2 separate regions of the Homo sapiens genome follow, and region 1 is linked to region 2. The links are contacts of gene promoters, found by promoter capture Hi-C in blood cells and fetal thymus (Javierre and others, 2016). All regions are on one chromosome and are shown on one strand. The core of a region is centred on a gene start or on the middle of the fragment in contact, and the rest is flanking DNA. Distances in the headings are between cores, read along the strand shown. Region 1 has its middle 19 kb from the start of LINC02125. Region 2 holds the start of CNTNAP4 (contactin associated protein family member 4).

Region 1 (7,156 bases), core at 3,994-6,493, 340 kb after region 2:
GAATGTCACTAATACAAGTGAACACAGTAAAATGTGGTATTCACACCTTTCTATATTGCAACAAATAAAAGATAATTCAGGAATAGAATTATTATATATATAAAATTATTCTTCTTCAAGCAGATTTTTTATCTAAATATAATAAAGATGAGATATTTTACATTCTCATGGAATAACATTTTTTTATCTTCTTCTCCCCTCAGTAGGCAGAGAATAGCAGCAGCAGTTATTGAAATGAAGGCAGTGAGGAGATACCAGTGTGAAAGATAATGCACAACCCGGTTCATCTAAATAGTTTAGGAAATTGCATTTCCACCAGATAATAGCTCCTAGAGAGTCAACTTCCTATCTTAGCTGAAAACTCTCATGTCATAAATCATAAAGTTGCATGTAGATGCAAATGGAGCATTTCTTCAAATTAGGGTTTCAATTCCTTTGGAATGAATCAAATGGGAGTTTTCTGATTTTATTTCTCCAGGTCAGCATAGCTTGTCAGATTTAGTTATAATCAGTGTTAATAACATATCCACTAACATTATGCTTATCCAAATGACACAGCTTAATAGTAGGAAAGTATTCCTTGAATAAAATAGAAGTTTAATGAACCACTGATTGATTCCTGATTCCAAACAGGTTCTTACAATGTAAAGATAATTAAGTAATAAGCAACTGTAAAGAAATTTAAATATAAAAATTTGCCTAACTATACAAGTGTTTGTATTTTTCATTAGAAATTTCAAAATTCTATCTTTTTTTTTGAGATAGAGTCTCACTCTGGCTCAGGCTGGAGTGCAGTGGCACGATCTCGGCTCACGCAACCTCTGCCTCCTGGGTTCAAGCGATTCTCCCGCTTCAGCCTCCCGAGTAGCTGGGACTACAGGCGTGTGCCACCATGCCCAGCTAATTTTTGTATTTTTAGTACAAACATGGTTTCACCATGTTGGCCAGGCTAGTCTTGAGCTCCTGACCTCAGGTGATCCGCCCGCCTCGGCCTCCCAAAGTGCTGGGATTACAGGTGTGAGCCACTGTGCCTAGCCTATTTTTTTTTTATTAAAAATTTGCCCAAATTGCTCTTCTCCCCTCACTCTGGCCCATATAATTTATGAATAGAATGATCATGAAGTGGAATTTTTGGACCTGGATCTCTTTACAACTCAAGTGTGATTACTTAAGAGTTAAGTGAACATTGTAAAGAAGGCAGTTGGGAATGTTAAGATGCAAGGTTTCCGTGTAATGGATGCTACTGCACCATATCCTAGTATATAGTTCCTAATGCACTAGACAATTATTAAAGCCGTCTCGTAAGATTTTACCCATTTTAAAATATCTACTTGTGTGGAATCTTCTATGTCAGTGCTCCTTTTCAAACTTCAAGTTGAATGATGTGGAGAGTCGGAAGAGATAAGAAATTCCAAATTGACACATCTTCCAGAGAAAAACCTGAGCTAAATACTTGAAATGACAACTGGTTAACTAGTGGTAGCCAGAAAATAACTGCTCAACATTTTACATTTTTTGTTTTGCCTATGGATATGACTAAATTTTAGTGTTTTACCTGCATGAATTCAATCTCAAATCCTATTTTCAAAAGCAAGCCTCATGTGTTTCTAAATATCTCTGATGCTTGTAAATAATTTAATTAAAATGACCAGGAATTATTTATTATAATTGTATGAAGGAGACTATTGTGGGTTTTAAGTAATTTTACAATATATAGGTACTTCAGGTGCCAATTAAATTATATATATACACACACACAGGATTTTGTTATATACATACATATAACACAGCCATATAATTTCCCTATTTAATTAACAGCATTCATAAAAGAAAATTACTTACAGTAAAAATGGGGTACTAACTCTACTGAAACAATTTCAACAGAAAAAGGTTATTAATTGCCATATATCAATAGTTGTATTAAATCCAAAATCCCTACTGCCAGCAATTTTATATTTGTCTCTCTCAGAGTTTCCAGATGGATGCTGGGTGAGATGAACTTGTGTTTTACAGAGGCAATTAGTTTATTCTTAGGATAATTTTTCAACAGTAAGAAGTATGTACACTTAGCAAGGAATTCATTTTGTTTTCCTTTGTGACAAATGGCAGTTCTTTGGTAGCTGGCCATTCAGCCCAAAGTGCCAGCTGGCAAACAAATCAAGACCATTTTTGTTTCCTTTCTTGGCATGTTGCCTATATGTTAAATGCAGAAGAGATGCTTTCTAAATTATAGTACTAAATAGAGTCTTGGGTCCTGGCCTAGAAATGTATTAATGATTATGGAGATTTCAGATCACAGTATAGTGTGTGATTAAAGTTCCAACTTATAGGTATCTAATTTCTGTTTATTGCAATGCTGATCATTGTTTAAGAACCTGTCTATAGGTTATGTCAGGCAAAAAGAGATCTGAAGGTCTTTGTGTAATCTCATGACTATATTATATTCATCTGAGCAATAAATATCAGAGTAGAAACTTAAAGTATTTTAATATTTCAGGAAAGTGGAAATTGTAAGAATGAGGTTAATTTTGGAAAATGGATTACTGAGGCAAACACACTTGCAGTCCTTGAATTAGAGCTTTTTGTGTGGCTTAAATTGAAATTACTTTTCCATTTACATCTTAGTGACGTAGATAAGAGCTATACCAGTTACTTTCAGTATACGTTGGGCAGGCCATTTCACCCCTCTAAGGATTTATGTCCTTATCTGTAACCATGATGTCAGTCATACCAACTTTACATGATAAATGTGATCCTATGCCAAAAAAAGAAAAAAAAAAAGCAATTGGCCTATTTCCTGGCAAATGATATGGGTTATTGTACTTGCTCGCATGCATGGGAAATTTTTTTGAAACTTGGAAAATAAGCATCTTAACTGCCATGCATCAGGCATGATAAATGGTAAACATTTATAAACATTAACTTATCTAGTCCACAGTCCAGCCCCGTATATATTAAAAGCAACAACAAACACTGAGTCTCTGAAATTTTAAATACCATGTCCAAGGTCATACAGCTACAGAGGTGTTAGGTGGCAGATCTGGCATTCAAATGTTTCTGCTTTCCAAACTCTGTGCTCTCATATAACAGGTTATTTTAGCTAATTGTTGTAAATATAATTTATAGGGAGATCTATATATAAATATGCATTAATCATACATAAAAGAAATATAAAGCAATTGAAAATGTATGTAAATTGATTTATTTCCTTTTATAATTTTTATGAAGTATATGTAGATGTAAATATAAATATGCTATATAAATATATAACACATAAGTTGCATAGATATGTGTCTGTGTGTGTGAGTGTGTATGTGTGTGTACGTAAATTGCTTTATCTTCTCTTGATCATTTCTATAGCAAAGTTTCTCATTACTCACAATGTTTCCCAGGCTTTACTGCACACTTTCTTGGAGACCACACTGGTGTATCTGAAAGGTCACTGGGCTGGGAGGAAGAGAGACAGGTCCTGTTTCAGATTGTAACTTTACTTTCCTCATTTATGAAATGAAGGTGTTATCTAAGGATCATTCAGGTTCTAAGAAGGCCTTGTCCTAGGAAGGTGCTAACGATTTTCTAGTACTGTGCTGTGTTGAGAGAAGGAAGATGAGCATCAGTAGACATTTCAGAAACATACCATCTGCCATGACTTTTACAACAATTCAAAAAGAATGATAACAACCGAAAAATTTCTGATCAAAGCCGTGGCTGAATTTATGAATTTGATTTTCATGCAAATTCAGCTCTGAACATGAAGTGAGTCGTGAAATGGAATTTGAAGGGGTCGTGCTCCATGCTCATGACTGACTGAAACATCCATCTGCCCAGCTCTCTACCCAAGCCCCCATGCTCACAAAGAAGATCTCATTCAGGCTGATGTTTATCAGCTGCTGCAAAATGGACTTAATCGTTTGAAAATAGGAAAATGAAGTTGTCTTTAGACTGGTAATGAAACTCCTATTTGTTTTGGAGACTTTTCCCCCATTGGAAACATTAAAACATTACAAAATCTTACCTACTAAAAATTGTATGCAAATATATCTTAGGAATATGCTTGATTGCCTAAGTCTGTAGAGAATCAGTAAAAATTCTGATTTGCTGCTAAAGTTGTCATAAAAGTTTATGAAAAATAACAGAAGAGAAACAAGAGGAAAGCCACATTAGTGTATAACTTTAACATCTTTCATTCAAATAATAAGGATGATAAAACAGAAAATATATATTTTCTGTTACCTCAGGGAAGAGTCCAGTCATCCATCATAAACCAGATAATACATGTATTTGTAATTTTAACTTTAATGTATAGAACTTTTAATGATTTAGTAAAGCTGAGTTTTCAAGCGTAGTGAATAATTTATGTTTTAATTGAACTGCTTAATCATATTAATAGTTTTCACATCGTACTTCCAAATGATAGTCTTTAGTGTTTCAGTTCAGATTAGTCTTCATTCTTCAGTCCAGATAAACATAACTCTCAAACCGAAGAAAAATAATTGATGCTATAATTTACATCACGTTTGAATGGTTATTTCTATTTTATATTTCACCTCATATTGTATGATTGATTGAGAAGTTTCAAGGGATAGAATTTGTTCTGAAAGTCAATACAATAATATTGTCTTGCAAATTCAAAACCAATTTATTATTGTTTGTTTTTACAAACAGAATATGTCTTGTTTACTGGCTTTGATAATTTTGACCCACAAATGCATATTATTGTATGTCTCAAAAATGACCATGAAATTAAAAAATAAGAAATTTGTATACAAGTAACTCCAATGTCCTAAAACTGAATTCAGTGTCACAGTTCTTTTATATCTAGATATGTAAAATAAAAATTTCAACCTTAAGTGATTACTAAGAAACCTCACAGTTCCAAGAACAGCTTTCATATTGTAAATTTGATTTGTAAAACATAGATTCTCAGAGCTCCTCTGTGTTGCTTTTCCCATTGAAACAGAATAGTATTATTGTTCCTATCAATGTAATAACCAGAATGGCACTTTTAATATTGTATTTCTAGACTTTGTTTATGTTTTTAATTTATTTTCTTTACCATAGTTGTATTAACATTATTTAATCATAGGCCTGGCTATTTACTTTTCTGACAACAGGATATTATTTATTCGGAACACATAGTTTTCATATTAGCCAAAGCTTTCGAAATCATTCTTGTGTGTTAGTTGAATATATAATTAGGCATTTTTCTAAATACACAATAATTACCCAGCAGAAAATGCTACCATTTCTATTTCTTAGTTTTAATGTACACAGAGCGGTTAGTAACAATAACAGAAGTGAAAGACCCAAACACTCTTTGAGTTTTAAAGTAAGCTTCCTATTGAGGCATAACCTGTATAAAGGAAAAGGCACAAACCTTAACTATACAGTTCAATGAATTTTCACAAAGTGAAGATATCCAGGGAGCTGCTGCAGAACATTACCAGTTCAATTCTTTGTAGTTATTATGTATCCATTTGTAACTCCAATGCTAACTTCTTTTTTTTTTCTTTTTTTCTTTTTTTTTGCAATGGAGTCTTGCTCTGTGGCCCAGGCTGGAGTGCAGTGGCACAATCTCGGCTCACTGCAAGCTGCGCCTCTCGGGTTCACGCCATTCTCCTGCCTCAGCCTCCCAAGTAGCTGGGACTACAGGTGCCCACCACCATATCCGGCTAATTTTTTGTATTTTTTAGTAGGGACGGGGTTTCACCATGTTATCCAGGATGGTCTTGATCTCCTGACCTTGTGATACGCCCACCTCGGCCTCCCAAAGTGCTGGGATTACAGGCGTGAGCCGTCGCACCCGGCCTCCAATGCTAACTTCTACCAGCATTGATCATTTTGACTTCTTTTATTAGCATTATATGAATAAAATTATAAGGTAAGAGCTGTTTTATGTTTGGCTTGTTTCACTCAACATTACATTTCTGAGATATACCCATGTTGTTGCACCTGATGTTAATTGATCACCCTTCATTCCTCTGTAGTACTGCTTTGTGTGAATATACAGGAAAGATATAGCCCTTGATGGATGAGGATGTTCATAATGGGGCTGAAGTAACTAAATGATACACCTGGTTCACATATTAAATTTTGACCTGTGTGATGTGTGGAAAAGGGACTGCAATGAGTCACAGCATAGCTGTCAAGAACAGGTGTAAGAGGCTGGGACAGCTTGGAAGGTGGCCTTCGGGCAGAGGTAACTGAGAGATTAGAAAATATTTTTATGTAAACTACAAGGTTTTTCTAATTACTAGAGTGTGGGAGGTGAGAGTGGGAAAACTGTACAGACGGACATTTCTTTATCAACTGGGTGGGTGGAAGTTATTTTTATTAAGATTACTATCAGAATATCAATAATATCAATGTTCCCCTCCTGAGCATGTGAAGTCTGAGCTATCCTGAAATCTTCGTATCTGTTAACTGGGCATTTGACTAAATGGACCTGAAGCTCATTAGTACTGGAAATGTAAGGTTTGACGCTATTGATATAAGGGTAGTATTTAAAGCCACGAGAATGAATGCTATCACCTAGGAGGAAAATAGAGCGTTAAAAGAGGAGATCCTAGACTGAGCCTTACAAACATTCAATATTTTAGGGACCATATGAAAAGAGAACCTTGAAAGAGAGACAGACTCAGAAGAATTTCAGTTTTAGGAGCAGCAGTGGTTAGGGTGGTGATGTAAAAGTCAGAAGAGTATGAGGAGGAAGGGGGTAACAACTGAATCAAATGCTGTTGGCTATGGTAAGATAAGGACTGAAAAATGCCTATTGGATGCTACAAAATGGGTATCTGAGTTTGGCAGCCAGATTGGAGTGAGACATGAATGACGAAGAACTGAAGATACCATGTGTAGACTACTCCTTTAAAAAGTTACCAACAGAGGGCCGGGCGCGGTGGCTCACGCCTGTAACCCCAGCACTTTGGGAGGCCGAGGTGGGCGGATCACGAGGTCAGGAGATCCAGACCATCCTGGCTAACACGGTGAAACCCCGTCTCTACTAAAAACACACAAAAAATTAGCCGGGTGTGGTGGCGGGCGCCTGTAGTCCCAGCTACTCGGGACGCTGAGGCAGGAGAATGGCCTGAACCCGGGAGGCGGAGCTTGCAGTGAGTGGAGATCGCGTCACTGCACTCCAGCCTGGGCGGCAGAG
Region 2 (6,164 bases), core at 3,153-5,652:
TGATTATGTGATCCAGCAATCCCACTTCTGGATATGTATCCAAAATAATTCAAAGCATTATCTTAAAGGAATACTTGCACACTCATGTTCTTTGTAGCATTACTCACTATGGTCAAAAGGTGGAAGAATTCCAAATGTCCACTGAGAGATGAGTGAATAAAGAAAATACAGTGTATACATATAATGGAATACTGTGCAGCCTTAAAAAGAGGGAAACCCGGTCACATCCTACAATATGGATGAACATTGAGGACACCATGCTAAGCGAAATCAGTCAGTCACAAAATGACAAATACCATATAATTCCACTCATATGAAGCATCTGAAGTAGTCAAAATCAGAAACATAAAGTAGAAAGGTGGTTGCCAATGGCTGCAGGAGGGGAGGGAAGAGAGGGATTTAATGTTTAATGGGTATAGAGTTTCAGTTCTAGAGATTTGTTGGATCACAATGTGAATATTCTTATCACTACTGAACTATACTTAAAAATGATTATGATGGTAAATTTAATGTTGTATTTTTTTTAACTACAATAAAAATGAAGGTAAAAGCACAATGTCTAAAAAGTATCCATTTCATTTGGAAGATATAAAGACAAATCAAACAATGTAAAAGAAATGAAATGATTACCCAGATTTGAAATGAAAAGATTCCTATAATAGAAATGTAGGGTAAAATAACTGTTAGATGAATAAATGAAACAAAAACATTGTATGTTAATTTCTTTCTAGTCTTTCAATGTAATATAGTTCCACTCTTGCCTTCTGGCCCTTTTCTAGTCTAAACTATAGTTTAGGATCCTCCATGGACCACTGTGGTGGGATATACAGTTCTCTGGCAAGTTGTAACAAGAAAATAATTCAAAGCCTGATTTTAAGAATTTCAACATTTTGATCTGATTTACATGGCTTTTGCCAGGCAGGGTGTAACCTATAGTATGGACGTGGGAGACCTTAAACACCAGGGTCTTTTCTTAATTGGTGGAAAACATAACCAAAATACAGACACAGGGAGAAGTGATTAAAGGAATCTGAATCAGCAGTACAGGTGTGCAAAATTAGATCTCCACACTTTTCTGACTTTTCCTTCGATTTTCTGATGTTAAACACCATCCTGGAGGGAATGGAGAAATGATGCATAAGTTAGTAGGTCTTGGAGATGAACCCTTTTCTGCCACCAGTGGGTCATATCCCACAAGCTGTAATCCCTCTGCTCATCAGATTTCTTTTCTGTGTCGTGTGAGTTGTACTAATATAATGATTACAAAAGGAATATTGATCATGCGCCTCCTAGGCATGCTCATTTCACAGGACATTGTCTTAACCATGAGGTTGATACCGTACTCATCGTTGGTGCACAGATGAGGAAATTAAGGATCAAGGATTATTATCCTGATGCAGCTTGCCCAAGGCCGTGCAGCTAGTGGGTGGTGGAACCTGTACAGACACTGAACCTGGGTGGCCAAGCTCTGACATTGCCTGCTTAGACCAATTCTCTGTACAGTTTTAATGCAGAGATCTAAAGCTGGGAAGTAAGTGAGGGCCCACTAAGCACAAGGCATTCAATAGTTGTCATATGTTATACCACAGTAACTCTTTGGTCATGATTCTCCTATCGGGTCATAAAATAAATAAACGAAAGGTCAGCATCATTGAGTCATTTAATCAAAACAACAGTGGAAGCTTGTATCAAGGCCGCTCTGGTTTTTTTGTTTTGTTTTGTTTTGTTTTTTTTTTTTTTTGAGTCAGAGTCTTGTTCTGTCGCCCAGGCTGGAGTGCAGTGGCTCGATCTCAGCTCACTGCAAGCTCCGCCTCCTGGGTTCATGCCATTCTCCTGCCTCAGCCTCCCACGTAGCTGGGACTACAGGCGCCTGCCGCCATGCCTGGCTAATTTTTTGTATTTTTAGTAGAGACGGGGTTTCACCATGTTAGCCAGGATGGTCTCGATCTCCTGACCTCGTGATCTGCCCGCTTCGGCCTCCAAAAGGGCTGGGATAACAGGCGTGGGCCACCGCGCCCGGCTGAGGCCTCTCTGTTTACCATATCTCAAGCACTCACTGTTTCATTTGTCTAGGCAACTCTCTACCCCTCTGCAGCCATCAGGCAGAGACAGGTTTTGCAGTGACTTGAAATGCTCAGGTCTTCTATTGAGGGCCAGCCCCCAATTCCTTCTATTACTGTAGCCCATTGATATGGAAAAATCCGCCAGTATTGGTCACTATAATAATTTATACATTGTCCCAAAGAAGTTATTATTGTTATAAAATGTTTATTTTTCATTTTTGCTATGTGTACTTATCCATTTAAGATGCATTCTCTAATTTGTTTTAAGAGAACAATTAAATACAATATTGTAACAACGAGACAACTTTTTTCTTCTGGAGAGCCCACAACCGTCCCACAGACATGATATTTTCTTCAAAGGACTGATATAATTATTCAATTAGATAACAAATGGCATATAGTATGTGTTCAGTAAAATTTAATCTCCTTCAATAATTAGTTAACATAAACTGTTAATTTATATCTGCTTTTACTTAGCATATGATTGAAAAAATAAAATCAGGAATGCAAGTCTAGGAACACAGAATAAACACTCAACCCATGACCTTTCTTTATTTTATTGTATTTATCCTTTTTTTTTTTTTTTTTTTTTTTGAGACAGAGTCTCGCTCTATTGGCCAGGCTGGAGTGCAGTGGTGTAATCTTGGTTCACTGCAACCTCTGCCTCCCGGGTTCAAGCGAATTCCTGCCTCAGCCTCCCAAGTAGTTGGGATTACAGTTGCCTGCGACCACACCCTGCTATTTTTTTTATTTTTAGTAGAGATGGGATCTCACCATGTTGGCCAGGCTGGTCTCGAACTCCTGACCTCAAGTGATTTGCCCACCTTGGCCTCCCAAAGTGTTTGCTGTGTTTTCCTAGGGCCTAAGGTTTTTGCTGCCACTGACAAGGGTCAGGAAGGAGGTATACTCTGATTTAGGGGCAATAAGTCCTAGGGTGAGAGCAGTAAAACTGGAGTCAGAAAAGCCAAATCCAGTCCTCAGCATTTATTACTAACTCTATGACCTCTTCGAATCATTTAAATTCTCTGTTCTTGTTTTCTCTTGTAAAACAGGAAAAGAAAAAAGATGCATTCTGCTTTGTTTGCAGGCATGAGCTAAACAAGCATGTTTAGTTCTTACGGGTATTTCTGTCATTTTCTCACTCTTTGACAAACCTATCTGATCTTTGACAAACCCACTCTCATTATTCCATAAGAAAGTGGTGTTAAAGGCTTATGTTTCTTCCAATTTGTGATTACCAAGAGGCACTTAAGAACTCCAGGATTTCCATTTGTATAAAATCTAGCACATTATCAGTAAAACATCTTGACATTTATTTTAAATAGATTATTTATCTGCTATGAACCATGTGACATGCTTCTTGTTATGTGATAGTAACTCCATTATTTAGACATTTTAAAATTCCATTCAAGAAACAGTTGTATCCATGGACCAGCCATTCAAAGAGTAATTTTTCTTTAATCATTGATCTTCCAAATTCAACTTTACTCCTCTCTCCTTTAAGTCACCTGAATTACATCGTCACATTGTTCAGTGTTTGTGTGAATGTGTATGCATGTGTGTATGTGGTGGTGGTGGAGGTCCCTTTCTTCAGTATTCCCTCATTTCCTACTTTGGGCCTTTTTGGAAATGTTATTAAAAATTTTGATTATAGAATGGTACTTCATATTCACAGCATGATGCATTCATCAACATAAATCTAGCCAAAGCATTTCATTTGTGGATTTATACACCTGAAGCATTAAAATAAGAAATGTTAATTTCTTGCAGACTACTACCAGATGATTTTAAATATCTGCTAAGCAGGAATGTCTGTTCCCATGTGGGGAATTTCCATAATAAAATCCTGGCACCCTCGCTGAAGAGTACAGTTTTATAGAAACAGAGAAAAACAACAGCAAGTATTTTCCCTGAGGACGGTTTTAGCTACAATTTCCCAATGCTGCTTAGTTATTTCTGTCTTATTTTATGCTTTTGTTTTGAAACATAATGCAATTTTACCTGGATGCACTCCCGGATAATCAGGAATGGCTCAGTGTGTTTTCTGGCTCTTGCAAATGCAAGACCTCCAGAAAATCAGAAGGCTCCACCGCCTTGTCCCTTCCCCCACTCACACCTCCAGCTGGGAGAAAAGGGTTAAGGATTATTGGAAAATAGAAGAGAAGGGAGGGAGCCCCAAGGAGGCCCACGAACGGGAGGCCGCGCCTCTGGGTGCAGCGGAGCTCGAGCGCTGTTGTGTGTTTGGAAGGAAGGATGCTGCTGCCAATTTGTGGGACCGCTGCTGCGAGGAGTGGGCGTGGCCTCGGCGGTGTGGATGCTTGTTAGGAAAGATGCTGAGTGCTTTTCAGTGAGGAGTCAGGGAGGTGTGTGTGAGAGAGAGAGAGAAAAGAGAGAGACAGAGACGGGGAGAGAGAGAGGGAGAGAGAAGAGAGGGAGGAGGGAAGAAGAAAAGACGGAGGGAGGTGAGGAGGAAGGGAGGGGGAGAGACAGAGACCTAGAGGGGCTGAAGACCCAGACAGAGCTGGCAGAGCTACTGAGAAGAGGACTGGAGCGCTCTGAGAGCCTCTCAAGATCTTTTGGGGGAGCCCAATAAATGTGAACATGGGATCTGTCACGGGAGCTGTCCTCAAGACGCTACTTCTGTTATCTACTCAAAATTGGAACAGAGTCGAAGCTGGGAATTCCTGTAAGTATACAGCAAATGATTTAAAACTTGCTGGGGGGCTCTCTGCAAAACTTTGATTCTGTTGGTTTGATGATGATTATTTGCAGCTGGGATTGCTGCAAAGCGTATTGCTGTAAACCAAGCATCACTTAAAAATCTTGCCAATGTGACCGGTTAACACTTGTCTCTCCTCTTGGTCTGGTCAAAATAGGCAAAGTGTCATTTCTCTTTTTGTCTACTCGCAGAATCTTACCCTCTGGTCTTTGAGTATTCATTGAGAATGCCCAAGTTCTAGTAAAACATGAAATTAGCATCTTATCGGGGGAATAGCCTGTGAATATCTTCATTTCTTCTTTTTTAAAGAACTACTGAATTTTATTGGAATTATGTCTAAGAGGAAAACAACTGGCAGACTTTACATTATGCTGCATTGGCTTAGATTTCTGAAGTTTGCAATTGGGCAGACCAGTAGCTGCCTGCATCTTTAAAATAATGCAGGCTAATAACTGAAATGTACTGCAGGCTTCAGGAGCACCAGCACTGGCTGAGGCGAGTCTCAGTATTAAGAGCTGTGCCCTCGCTGCTAAGAGAATGAGACTTAGCGCTCTCCGGAAAGAGGAGCCTCTTCCTACATTTCGCTTAAAGGAAAACCAGTCAGGTGGTCTTTCAAAAGTAGGATTCCTTTGTGGTTGAATGCTTAACTGCATAAATTTGTAATTGAATGTTCTGATGAAATAGAACCTATTTAGGGAAGATTGAAATCTTATTTATAATTTAGATATCATCCATAATAATTTGGCAGACTCCCTTCATCCACTCTTTATTAGAGATAGAAAAAGTTTTAAAAGTTATCTTTGGCTTAAATTCTCTAAATGGGAGAATTTTCCCCTCCTGATTAATGACAAACAAGCTTGGCAAATACAACTTTTTATTTTTTCTTGGATTTTAAAGGAAAAGCTCATTTGCTTTCCAAGAACTGGCTATGAGGCCTGTCCAGGAATTTATGTTGCTGCTGTATCATCAGGCTTAGATTTGGGGAACAGAGGCAGTAATCAGACATTTGCTATGGCATATCACTTGACTATGTTAAGAGTTCTGATATGTGAAAAACATGACAAACTCATGGGCACAAGTCAAATGTCCCCTCACAGTACCTGGCTCCCGTGATTTCGTGTTTCAGTTCAGAATGGGCTCATTTAATGTCACAGGGTATCCATCACTCTGAAAGAAGGAACCTCACTTCAGGTGCTGCACATCAGATTCAACTTTAGTTTGAGTGTTGTGATAATCTCATAAGTCAATAAAATGTATAATTTCACCTAGTCAAAACCTTGGAATCTTATAATGGTAGCATTAGAAAAACATTGCATCATACAAGCAAACAATAACAACAACACCCACACACAAATGGAAGTTCTGTAGAAAAGGCATAAGTA

The links. The method cuts DNA at HindIII sites, captures the fragments that hold promoters and counts their contacts. A CHiCAGO score of 5 or more calls a contact.
Region 1: a fragment that was not itself captured here is called in contact with the fragment with the promoter of CNTNAP4 in region 2 in 1 of 17 cell types (megakaryocytes); the score reaches 5.0 in megakaryocytes.

The regions. Positions count from the first base shown.
Region 1 is chr16:76,612,321-76,619,476 of GRCh38, forward strand. No RefSeq gene overlaps it. Among named protein-coding and RNA genes, the nearest start is that of LINC02125, 19 kb to the right of the region's middle. The HindIII fragment of the contact is 177 bases long and covers 5,156-5,332 here.
Region 2 is chr16:76,272,999-76,279,162 of GRCh38, forward strand. It overlaps CNTNAP4 (contactin associated protein family member 4), which reads left to right and starts at 4,403. Exons shown (of 24, transcript NM_033401.5): 1 at 4,403-4,749. The coding sequence starts at 4,665. The HindIII fragment of the contact is 3,956 bases long and covers 1,681-5,636 here.